3 separate regions of the Homo sapiens genome follow, and regions 1 and 2 are each linked to region 3. The links are contacts of gene promoters, found by promoter capture Hi-C in blood cells and fetal thymus (Javierre and others, 2016). All regions are on one chromosome and are shown on one strand. Each heading gives the region's core, a stretch centred on a gene start or on the middle of the fragment in contact. The rest is flanking DNA. Distances are from core to core; before and after follow the strand shown.

Region 1 (3,139 bases), core at 594-3,093, 190 kb before region 3:
AAGAGGTGATCCCCTTCCCGTAAGCAAGGCCATCCAGGCCGCACATCCACCCTAAGGGGTGGAGAAACAGTGTCAAGACTCCAGAAAGCTCTCTGAGAGGCTGTAAAGCAGGAGGCTGGGGCTCCTGAGCTAGAGCTTTGAGCTCAAAGATCACTATCTGCAAGAGACGGGCATCAGAAACCACCCAGACCTGAATGTGCTGTCTCTTGGGATCCATCTTCTGAGGGTGAAGCTCGAGTGAGCGGGGCAGGCAGCTGTCAACAGGGAGCTAAGGAAAAGCCTCAGAATGGGCTCTGTGAAGGCAAGGCCTTTGTCAGCAGATAGGGACCGCTACAGCTGACCCCTGGGGAAGGAGAAAAAGCCTCCCACCATATCCTCACCTCTTTCTTCATCTCAGGGGGACAGCTAGGGGTGGCTCTGGACAGGAAAGAAGGGAAGTAGGTATGCAGGGTGGAATCCGGCTTTGCTCCAAATGCCAGCACTTTCAGTCGGGGGTAGAGCTGACACAGCTGCTCCTGCAGGCTGGGTGGGGTGGGGAGGAAAGACAGGCATAAGCTATAAGTGGAGCTGTATGATATGAACCTTTTGCTTGCTTCAGAGCCCATGCCTGCCTGTGGGGAATAGCCACTGAGGACCTTGCAATGGCTCTGAATCTTTTTACTCAGAGACTCCTTGGAAATCTGTTGAAAGCCATGGACCCTATCCCTAAGAAAATGCCCATATGCCAATCACACTCAAGGGTCCATATAATTTCAAGGGGTCACTGTTCCCTTGAAACCTACTCTTGAACTTCCAGGTTGCAAATCTCAGATCTAGGATGGCTGGGGAAGGAGAGACGGGAATATGTAGTGTGGTTCTGGTGCTGTGGTCCCTTCTCAGCAGGTGTGCCCCAGAGCAGTCCTACCTGGGTGTCAGGGAGTTGTTCGGCATATAGGCAAAGTCCAGAAGTGGGAAGAAGTCCTTGGGGCCAATCATGCCGAAGCCCTTGGTAAGGTTGGGATGCATCCTGTGGGGATGAAGAAACAGGCTCGCTGGACACCACCACCCATGCCAGCTGTTTTGGCCATGACCCCAGCTAAGCCAACATCTAGGAAAAAGGGTATAAACTCTACCCCATCTGCCAGCCCTTAATAGCTCCCTCTTCTTCCTTCCTCACCATCACATTCTAAGGTGGTGGGAGAAGCTGGTCCTGATTTTCCTCATATCCATGGAGACCAAGATCATAGCCTCCCATTTTGCTATAACAGCCACTTGGGACACCCTGAGCCTTCCCCTTGCTGCCCTCCCATTACTCACAGGAGCAGCCGATCCAGGTATGTGATGGCAAAGGGAGACAGAGACTTGATGCCCAGCACAGGCAGCATGATCCCCAGCCACACTGCAGGGGTAAAAGTCACGAGGGAGGCCTCAGGCTTGCACCTACTGGGGGCATCAAAGAGGAGTTTTCCAGCTCCGAGACCCTCCCTCTTTCTTCCCTATTTCCCTGTTACCTTTCAGTCCCTCGGTGAGGTTGGCAAAACCTGCTTGACCCAGGGCCCACATGATGGTGAGACACTTTGCTGGTCGGCTCTGGTGGGACCTCAGCAGTTCCAGGAACTGAGGAGACCGGTGGGGAAGGCAGATTGGGATAGGACAAAACACCAGGAGCACCCCCCAAAGCCAGGAGGGAAGGGAGATGTCAACTGGAAGAGGGAGGACAGGCCGAGCAAGAGTGGAGCACTATGGCCACGTGGTGCAGGTTCTGTTTGTGGGCTTCGCCCATACTCTGCCATTTACTGGATGACTGAGCCTAGGAAAGTTACTGAACTCCTCTGTGGCTCAATCTTTTCATCTATAAAAATGGGAAATAATAGCAGTACCTTGCTCCTATGTTTCCAGAGCACACACACAGGATAGGTGCTAATAGTGTTACCCATTATTACTAGGCTTACAGGTCTTCCACTATCCCAAACCTGAGTCCAACAACATAGATTCTGCCCAGCCTCCCCAGTCCTAGCTTCCTAGCATCCCCACCATCACTGAGAGCTCACCTTGCCTAGGTTTGCCGTGGCAATCTTGGGCTTGTCTTGCAGGATGGCCTGGATACAGATGCGGTAACCATGTAGTGACTCCCCTGGAGAGATACACATTCTCACACCTACTCACATTATTTGGCATCCCAAACCTGAAATCTCCCATTTGTCAGCGGTGAGCCCAGGCCCCAGGTCCACTGACTCCTAACTTCCTCCACACTTTCCAAAAAGTGTTAAGGTTAGCACATTTCTCTGCTGGAAACAGAACCACTGAGTGGTACTGGAAGCAGGAAAAAAAGGAGGAGGCTCCCAAGATGGTCATCCCTCCCGTGCCCCTTTCACCTGGTGTCTTATCCAGCTCTTGCAACATGGTGAACAGACAGTGGTCAAAAAAGAGCTCCAGAGACCCTGCTGCCTTCGCCAGCAGCCCTCGGATGATCCCACGTAGCTCCCGGCTCACCAGGCTGTAGGGATAATCTAAGGCCCATAGGCCTCAATGTGAGTGCTAGGACCAGACACCCATCAGCTCTGAGAACTGTGGTGCTCTCCCTGGGAATGGTGAGTGGAGGCAAAGGCCCCTGCACTGAGGCTGGGATCCTTCCTCTGAGGAGGCCCAGAGGGAGGATCACAGAATGAGGCCCAGAAACATTCACAGTCACGATGATTTGAGACCAGCCCAAATCACCCATGGAAATCAGGACAGTGTGGGGCACTGGGATCTGTTATACCACCCTTTTTGAATTTATTTGAACTTGTCTGAGCTTGAGGAAGCTGGAAGGACTTACCATGAGTATGCTGGCTCAGCGTGGGTTCACTTAGAGGAGCTTGTAGCTTGTAGTTGAGATAGCTGGCCAGGTCCTTCAACCATATGGATGGGTTTCCAGAGAACACACTCTGGCTCTTGTCCAGTTCCTTCTGCAGGTCTGCCACATCCAGCTGCCAGGGACAATCCCCCAACCCCCCACCATGGCGAGTTGTGAGTGAGGGAGTAAAGAAATGGGGTAGGGGTGGGAAAATGGTTGAACTAGGTGGCAGTAGGAAGAAGGGATTCCATTTTTAAGCATAAGAACATGGAATGCTGCAATTCTGCTGTACCTACATCTTTAAGAATGGAACAGGACAGCTGA
Region 2 (3,466 bases), core at 507-3,006, 140 kb before region 3:
AGAAGCTGATTGTAATGGCAATTATAAAAAGGGGATGGCTTATTATGGAATCTAGAGAAAAAGATAGTTAGAAAGGAAAACTATGTTAGTGCAACTGTAACACTGTCCAATGGACCACTCTGCTTAGCTGGAATTGGTATTCTGGTCACTAGGATGAATGATGTCTCCTCTGGTAGAGAGAGGAGAATTAATCAAGCTTGAACCATGGTGTGGATAACACATAATTTCTTAACTTCCAACTGTATTTGCTCTGATTTCATGCTTATAAATCAAGCTCTGATTACCTTTCTGATTTTCAAGCCACCATGATACAGGGAAGAAGTATATTTATTAAATTGACTTTCTGGTACAAATGTGCCTAAGCAAATAAATGTAAGTCAGTTTTCTCAGGGCTTGGTGACCTCAAGAAAAGCTGATAATTAAGTTATCAGATCAAAATACCTGAGAGACTAGATCCTGAATTGTGTCAGTTTCCTCAGAACATGGCACACAGTAAAACAGTCAAGACAGCCAGATTATTATCATGTTTCTTTCAAAGTAGGCAAATGCAAAAGTATGCTGAAATGTTGGACAGCTCCCACACACAAAGATTAGGGCTCAAGTCAAATTCTGGGGTATTCTGGTAGCATTCCTTAATGTCAGTCTTCTCAATTAGTCTCTGTCTGGGGGGAGAGCGCCATCTCCTACTCAAGGAAGCATGGTTCTCAAGACATCCATCATGAGTTCTTGCTTTCCTGCCAGGCATGAACTTTTGGACACAATCAATGGTCATGGCCAAGTAGGGCCTACAGTAGTAGGATAAAGAACCAGAACTGTCCTATTTCCTAAATCCAGCAAAAATCGAGTTGGTAAGGCTGAGAAGGGGGCAGATGACTCCTCAGCTGGTCTTCAACCTGGCAATCTCATGGGGAGGGAGTCACATCCATACCAAGAGTTTAGTCACCACCTGAAGTGTTAGGGACATCAGGCAGGAGCTACACATCCTCCCGACCTCCCCAGAACTTTCCCTCAACAGGAATTTTTTCTATCCCTGGAACAACTTCTTTCTGTGACCTGGAGAAGGACTTAGCTCTAAGTAGAGAAACTGGTGTAATATGGTGGGGGACTCTGTAATTTTGACACCAAACAGCCTGAAGTGACTGATGATAGAACAGATGGTTAAGAAAGGAGCTTTAACAAACCAGTTTCTGGTTTTATTTTAATAATGTCCTAATTTTTTTTATTTTTCTTGAGATGAGTTCCACTCTTGTTGCCCAGGCTGGAGTACAGTGGCGCAATCTCGGCTTACTGCAATCTCCACCTCCTGGGTTCAAGCAACTCTCCTGCCTCAGCCTCCCGAGTAGCAGGGATTACAGGTGTGCACCACCACTCCCGGCTAAGTTTTTGTATTTTTAGTAGAGATGGGGTTTCATCATGTTGGCCAGGCTAGTCTCAAACTCCTGACCTCAGGTGACCTGCCCACCTTGGCTTCCAAAGTGCTGGGATTACAGGGGTGAGCCACTGCGCCTGGCTAATAACGTCCTAATATTTTACCTCATCAGGGTCTTCCAGTTAAAACATGCATGGTATTTCCAGAGAAAGGAAAAGTGGGAGCTATACAATCCCTATGACTAAACTGAAACTAGGGAAAGTAGCAGAATATAAAAAGGGCATGGAAGTACAACATGTGCAATAGGAAATAAAACAGAACACTGGATTTCTCAGGAGAGAAGCAACACATTATACAGAATCAACACTCCATGTAGGAAACAGAAGGGTTTCAAATCATCTTCTCACTTCTGGCCTACACAGTCTTCACAAGGATATCAATGAGTAAGATGCAATTGATCCTATTTGATTCTAGTTTTATGGAATGTATACCACATTTCATGATTGCAGTGGGGTGTGTTAAAACTATAACATGAATTCAAGGGCAGGGATGAGGCAGTATCTTACATTTGTCATTTTTAAATTCCAAAGCATGGCTGAAGTAGGTGCTTCATGTTTGCTGAGTGACCTGTCTTCTCCTCCCCTCAAATATCCATTCCAAACTCTTAGTATAGGTCAGGATTAAAAAAAAAAAAAAAAATTATCTGGGCCGGGTGCAGTGGTTCATGCCTGTAATCCCAGCACTTTGGGAGGCTGAGGCGGGTGGATCACCTGACGTCGGGAGTTCAAGACCAGCCTGATCAATGTGGAGAAACCCCATCTCTACTAAATTACAAAATTAGCCAGGCGTGGTGGTGCATGCCTGTAAACCCAGCTACTTGGGAGGCTGAGGCAGGAGAATCGCTTGAACCAGGGAGGTGGAGGCTGCAGTGAGATGAGATCGTACCACTGCACTCCAGCCTGGGCAACAAGAGCGAAACTCCATCTCAAAAAAAAAAAAAATTATCTGGTAACATTAGTCAGTGAGAATGAGTACTACGCTTCTCCTAAAATGTGACTTTAAAAGTATATTTTTGTCAAAAGGTATTGCTATAGCACTTAGATATAAATATAATAAATATGAACATACCTCTTTTATTCTTCTCCCTTAGTTATGGAGTAGTAACAGTTTCTGATTTTCCAAAATCATGAGATTAAAAAATTATACACATTCAATCTCTCTTAGGAATCTGGCACAAAGTATATGAGTGTGTGGTGGTGGTGGTGAAAGGCAGGGAATCAATTTCCACGTGTGGCCTAAGGAGGTCAAGGTGCAAAGTCTAGCATGATTTACGCAAGTTATTTCAATAAGAGAAGGAGAGGAGGAATGCCCGATGCTTTTAGTGGGATAGAGAGAACACAGACAGTTGTTACCCATTTACATCTGGCCCAATTTGGAGTCTGAGAATCTGATCTACAAATGCAAGACAGGATGCGTGCCTAGACGTTGCCAGGGCCTTCCAGAGAGACCATTTAGGCAATCTCATGATTACAGGATTCTGAAGGGATGGAAATAGAAAGGAGATAAACTGTGTGAAAATAGGCCAATTTCTTTTATTTATGTGGGGCTCTATAAAATGAATGTGGAATTCTATTGTTTAGAAAAAGAGTAGGGACTACCTCGGGGCAGGCAGACACAGCTGATAGAACTGGAGTAGGGATTTGAGAAAGCAAGCGGCAGTGACCCACAGACCATTTGTAGCCAATTGTCACCAACAAAGTCCTCTTCTCCCTATCACCACCACCAAACTGTTTCTTTTGTGGTGAGGCTGTAGGCAGTATTGGTCCAGCCACCACTATCACTTCCTTCCTGCTATTGTCTTTCCACTAGGACCAGACATACCAACTGACCACAGGCTGTACCTCAGTGGCAGACCCGACCTCCCCTGGGACTGATTGACTAAGCTTCCCTACAATCTGTTTGGATCTCTTTTTTTTTGGGATGGAGTCTCACTCTGTCGCCCAGGCTGGAGTGCAGTGGCACGAACTCGGCTCACTGCAAGCTCTGCCTTCCCGGTTCACACCATTCTCCTGCCTCAGCCTCCAGAGCAGCTGGGAC
Region 3 (3,499 bases), core at 370-2,869:
TATTCCCAGCACCAGAAAACTGCACCCTCGCGTCCTGGGTGGCCCTGGTTTGTCGTCGGATGGACACCAGGGTCGGCTATTGTTCTCCGGGTCTCCCCGAAGGGAGATCCGCCTCCCTGGCAGCACCTGCTGCTGGGCAAAGCCTTTCAGCTCCTCGAGAAAAGGGCGTGCCGTGGGCGCCGCGGAAGATCACAAAACCCTAAGCGAGTCGCTACCGGCTGGTTTCAAGCCTGGAGACAAAGCTCCTCACCAAGCCAGCCCAGCCCGGTCCCGGATCTGCCATCCTGGGTCCCTAACCCCGGTCCGAGGGCCACGCCCAGCCGGCCACCTGGGCCGCGGGGCCCCGCGCCTGGAGCTGAGGATCCTCGGGCCCGAGACCGCCTCTCAGCTGCTTGCCCCTCCCTCCTCGGGAGGCTCCCCTTCCCAGGAGGCCCCCCTCCCCCGCACAGCGCGGGTCTTCTCCTCGCTCCCGTCCTCCCTCCTCAAACCCAGGCGGCCTCCACCCGCCTGCATCCCTCCTCCCCTCCCCATTCTTCAGCAGAACCAGCCTCGCCGGGCGCCACCTGCACCGAGCTCCTTCCCTCGTTCTTCGGACCCGCCCCCGCCCCTTCTCTTTCCTCCTCAAACCCTAGTTCCCACTCCCTGCTCCCCGAGACCCACTACCTGTCCTAACCCAGCTCCCCAGCCTTCCCCATCCCCATCTTTTCTCAACCGAGGCCTCCCCTCGCCCTCTCCCGGCTTCTCTCCAGCTCAGACTACAGCCCCGTCCCCAGGCCCGGGGCGTCGACGTCGGTGCCCGCTGAGATCGATGCTGCAAGGCGGGCTCCCGCGCTGGGCTCCAGCCGAGGGACCCGGCTCGGCGCCCGCTCCGGGCTGGGCAGCCGCAGGAGGCCTTTGTGGCTCAGGCGGGAGGCTCGGAGGCGGCGGGCGAGTCCTCTGCAGGCGTCCGCTCCGTTAGCCGGGCGGTGGAACAGACCGCCGGGTCGGGTCCAGGCTGGGCAGATCCCAGCTCGGAGGCGAGAAGGACGGAGGGTGTGTATCTGGGTGGTGTGTGGGACCGGGGACAGCGCAGATCCTGGGACCGGCAGGACTGGCCCCCGGCCAGAGGCGCCCCCGCCCAGCCCTCCAGCGGTCCACTGCACCGCGCCCGGCTAGGAAAGCGGCCCACTGCGTGCTAGGCGCGAAACCCCTCGGCCGAGCCGCCTCCTCACCCCAGGGCTTTGCAACCCCGCGAGCACGCATTAAACGCTTACTATGAGCAAGGCCCGGCACGGCGCTTCGCGGGCGTACAAAGAGGACCCCAAGAGCGCCCCGGCTTAGCCCCGATGGCCACCTCCCAACCCCAAACCACACCTCCCGCCGCGTCCCCTGCGGCCGGGCCCCAGGCTCACCCGGCTCCCCGCCCTTTTGTGCGCCTCACGCAGAAACAGAAGGGGGAGAGGAGGATGTCCTAGCCCGGGAGGGGTAAGCCCACCGACCCCCCTGCCATCACCCACTCCTCCGAGATGCTGCGGCCGCGGGGGCCCGTGGCTCGGTCCGTCTCCGTCTCGCCGCGGCGCCGGAGCTGCGGGTGCTCGGGGCGGCGGCGGCTGCACGCGCGCTCGCTCGGGGGCCGCCTCAGCGCGCCCAGCGCGGGAGTCCAGAGTGGGGAGCGGGGGAGGGGCGCGTGTCGGGGGCTGGGAGCGGCCTCCGCCAATCACCGCGCGGCCGGCTCCTCCCGCCGCTCCCCACCTCAGCTAGCAGGTTAAGGGGAGGCGGGGACAGGCGGCGTCCCGCATCCTTGGCGCCGCGCGCCGCCGCCGCCTGGGGACTACAACTCCCGGCAGGCCCTGCTGCAGGGCCGGGGTCCGAGAGCGGACGGAGGGCGCGGCCGGAGAACTCACCGACCCCCCTAGCACCCGGCTCCGCGTTCCCTCGGGTTTCCATGGCGACTCAGGACACCACAAAGCCTGGACGCGCTGAGGCACGGGTCCCCAGGGAGGGCCGGGGGCGGTTCCGGAGGACACCCCGCCTCCCCTCCCCCAGCTGGATCCCACCCCAGGGGCTGAAACAATGCCGCGGCCGCCTCTCCCGGGCTGCGGCCGCGCTGCCCTCCGCCGCAGGACCCCGCCGAGGCCGCCTGGTTCGCGCCAAGACCCGCTCCGACGCCCGCGGGATTGCGGGATGCAAAGGGCCGGGTGGGCGTTATAGGAAAACTGTTCTCATGAACAAAGTGGACGGCCACTTGGGGCCACCGCAGTTCGCATCTGCACCCGGGGAGGTCTCGAACCCGGAGTGCGTTCTCTCCACTGAGAAGATTTTGCCCAGCGCCACGCGGGTGCTTCCCTGTCCAGAGCGCTCAGGCCCAGTGCCTGTCTTATTTCTGGCTTCTGTCAAGGGACAGCGAAGCCTTTGGAAATTATTTATAACCCAATTTACATTCGCTTCACCTGTTTCTTCATGTTTAAATACATACATAATTTACCAAAATAAACAAATCTAAAAAAGGAGAGGAAGGATCATCCCCGGTTTGTCCCACCTCCCTAGCTAATCCCGGTTCAAGCCTTTGCCATTGATCTGTGTTATTTTCTGCAGTTGTAATAATAGTTTGGATTAGTCATTTGCCTCTTTGCACTTAATGTCACTCCAAAGGCGTTGCGATGCGCGTTAAAATGCAGCATCAAGGACCTCCAAGCTGCAGCTGCAGAATCCCTCCCTCCCCGGGCTCCCCGGCGATCCGGTGGGGAGAGGAGTCCCCTGGCAGCCATGGCCTCGTGAGGTGGTTCTCTTTGCAGGATACTTTCAAACAAAATGGTGTTCACTACTCCGGGGGCGTGGAGGGGGTCCCCTCTCCCCATCTCAGCAAAATCTACCCGGGCGCAGGACCCGCAGAGCCCGCCAAGGCGGGGTTCCCTGCCGTCCTTCCCCAGAGAGCTTAGGGCCTGGACCAGGCCAGGCTGGCCTTTGAGGGATGCATTTCTGGATTACCCCACCCCTGAGTCTGCACTCCTTCTCCCCTTCCCAACTCCCGCCTGCTTGGTAAGCAGAGAGCAGGGAGCCCCCAGAGGAACCTCAAAGCATCCCTAACCCAGTGCAGCCCGGGATGTGGCTGTGAAAACTGCTCCAGCTTGGGGCACTGCCCTATGGATTCTCCAGGGCTTGCCCGGACAGGGATGTAGGCAAAATGGACTGGGCTTCAGGGAGGTGGCGTGGAGCTGCCAGCGGCCTCCCGGCGGCGGGGTTCCGAGACTACCGCGCGCGGGCGGTGCTGCGCTTTTTGCTTAAGGGAGAGAGAGCCCTCTAGTGACTGTAAATGTTTTCTGCAGCGTCTCGTAGACCTTAAATTTGGATTCTAGCATCTTAGCTTTCTTGGGCTACCTTCCCTAGTCAGCGAAACGGCTGCCTCTACGTCATCTGTCAGTTTAGGATATTGATAAAGGTTGCACCCAAACCGGGGGTTGCATATGTCCTCAGTCCTCGACTTCGGTTTGTTGTTGCTAACTTAGGCTCCGTTTCCTGG

The links. Contacts are between HindIII fragments. The CHiCAGO score rates a contact against its expected background, and 5 or more counts as called.
Region 1: a fragment that was not itself captured here is called in contact with the fragment with the promoter of DPYSL5 in region 3 in 1 of 17 cell types (endothelial precursors); the score reaches 5.0 in endothelial precursors.
Region 2: a fragment that was not itself captured here is called in contact with the fragment with the promoter of DPYSL5 in region 3 in 2 of 17 cell types (megakaryocytes and endothelial precursors); the score reaches 7.2 in megakaryocytes.

The regions. Positions count from the first base shown.
Region 1 is chr2:27,034,944-27,038,082 of GRCh38, reverse strand. TMEM214 (transmembrane protein 214) reads right to left here. Exons shown (of 17, transcript NM_017727.5): 3 at 2,798-2,948; 4 at 2,355-2,489; 5 at 2,031-2,113; 6 at 1,491-1,596; 7 at 1,297-1,378; 8 at 905-1,006; 9 at 381-522. Among named protein-coding and RNA genes, the nearest start is that of TMEM214, 3.5 kb to the right of the region's middle. The HindIII fragment of the contact is 4,998 bases long and covers 1-3,139 here.
Region 2 is chr2:26,991,134-26,994,599 of GRCh38, reverse strand. All of the region lies in intron 1 of MAPRE3 (microtubule associated protein RP/EB family member 3), which reads right to left. All of the region lies in intron 3 of MAPRE3-AS1 (MAPRE3 antisense RNA 1), which reads left to right. Among named protein-coding and RNA genes, the nearest start is that of MAPRE3-AS1, 22 kb to the left of the region's middle. The HindIII fragment of the contact is 3,116 bases long and covers 199-3,314 here.
Region 3 is chr2:26,846,252-26,849,750 of GRCh38, reverse strand. DPYSL5 (dihydropyrimidinase like 5) reads right to left here and starts at 1,619. Exons shown (of 13, transcript NM_020134.4): 1 at 1,497-1,619. The HindIII fragment of the contact is 4,603 bases long and covers 1-3,499 here.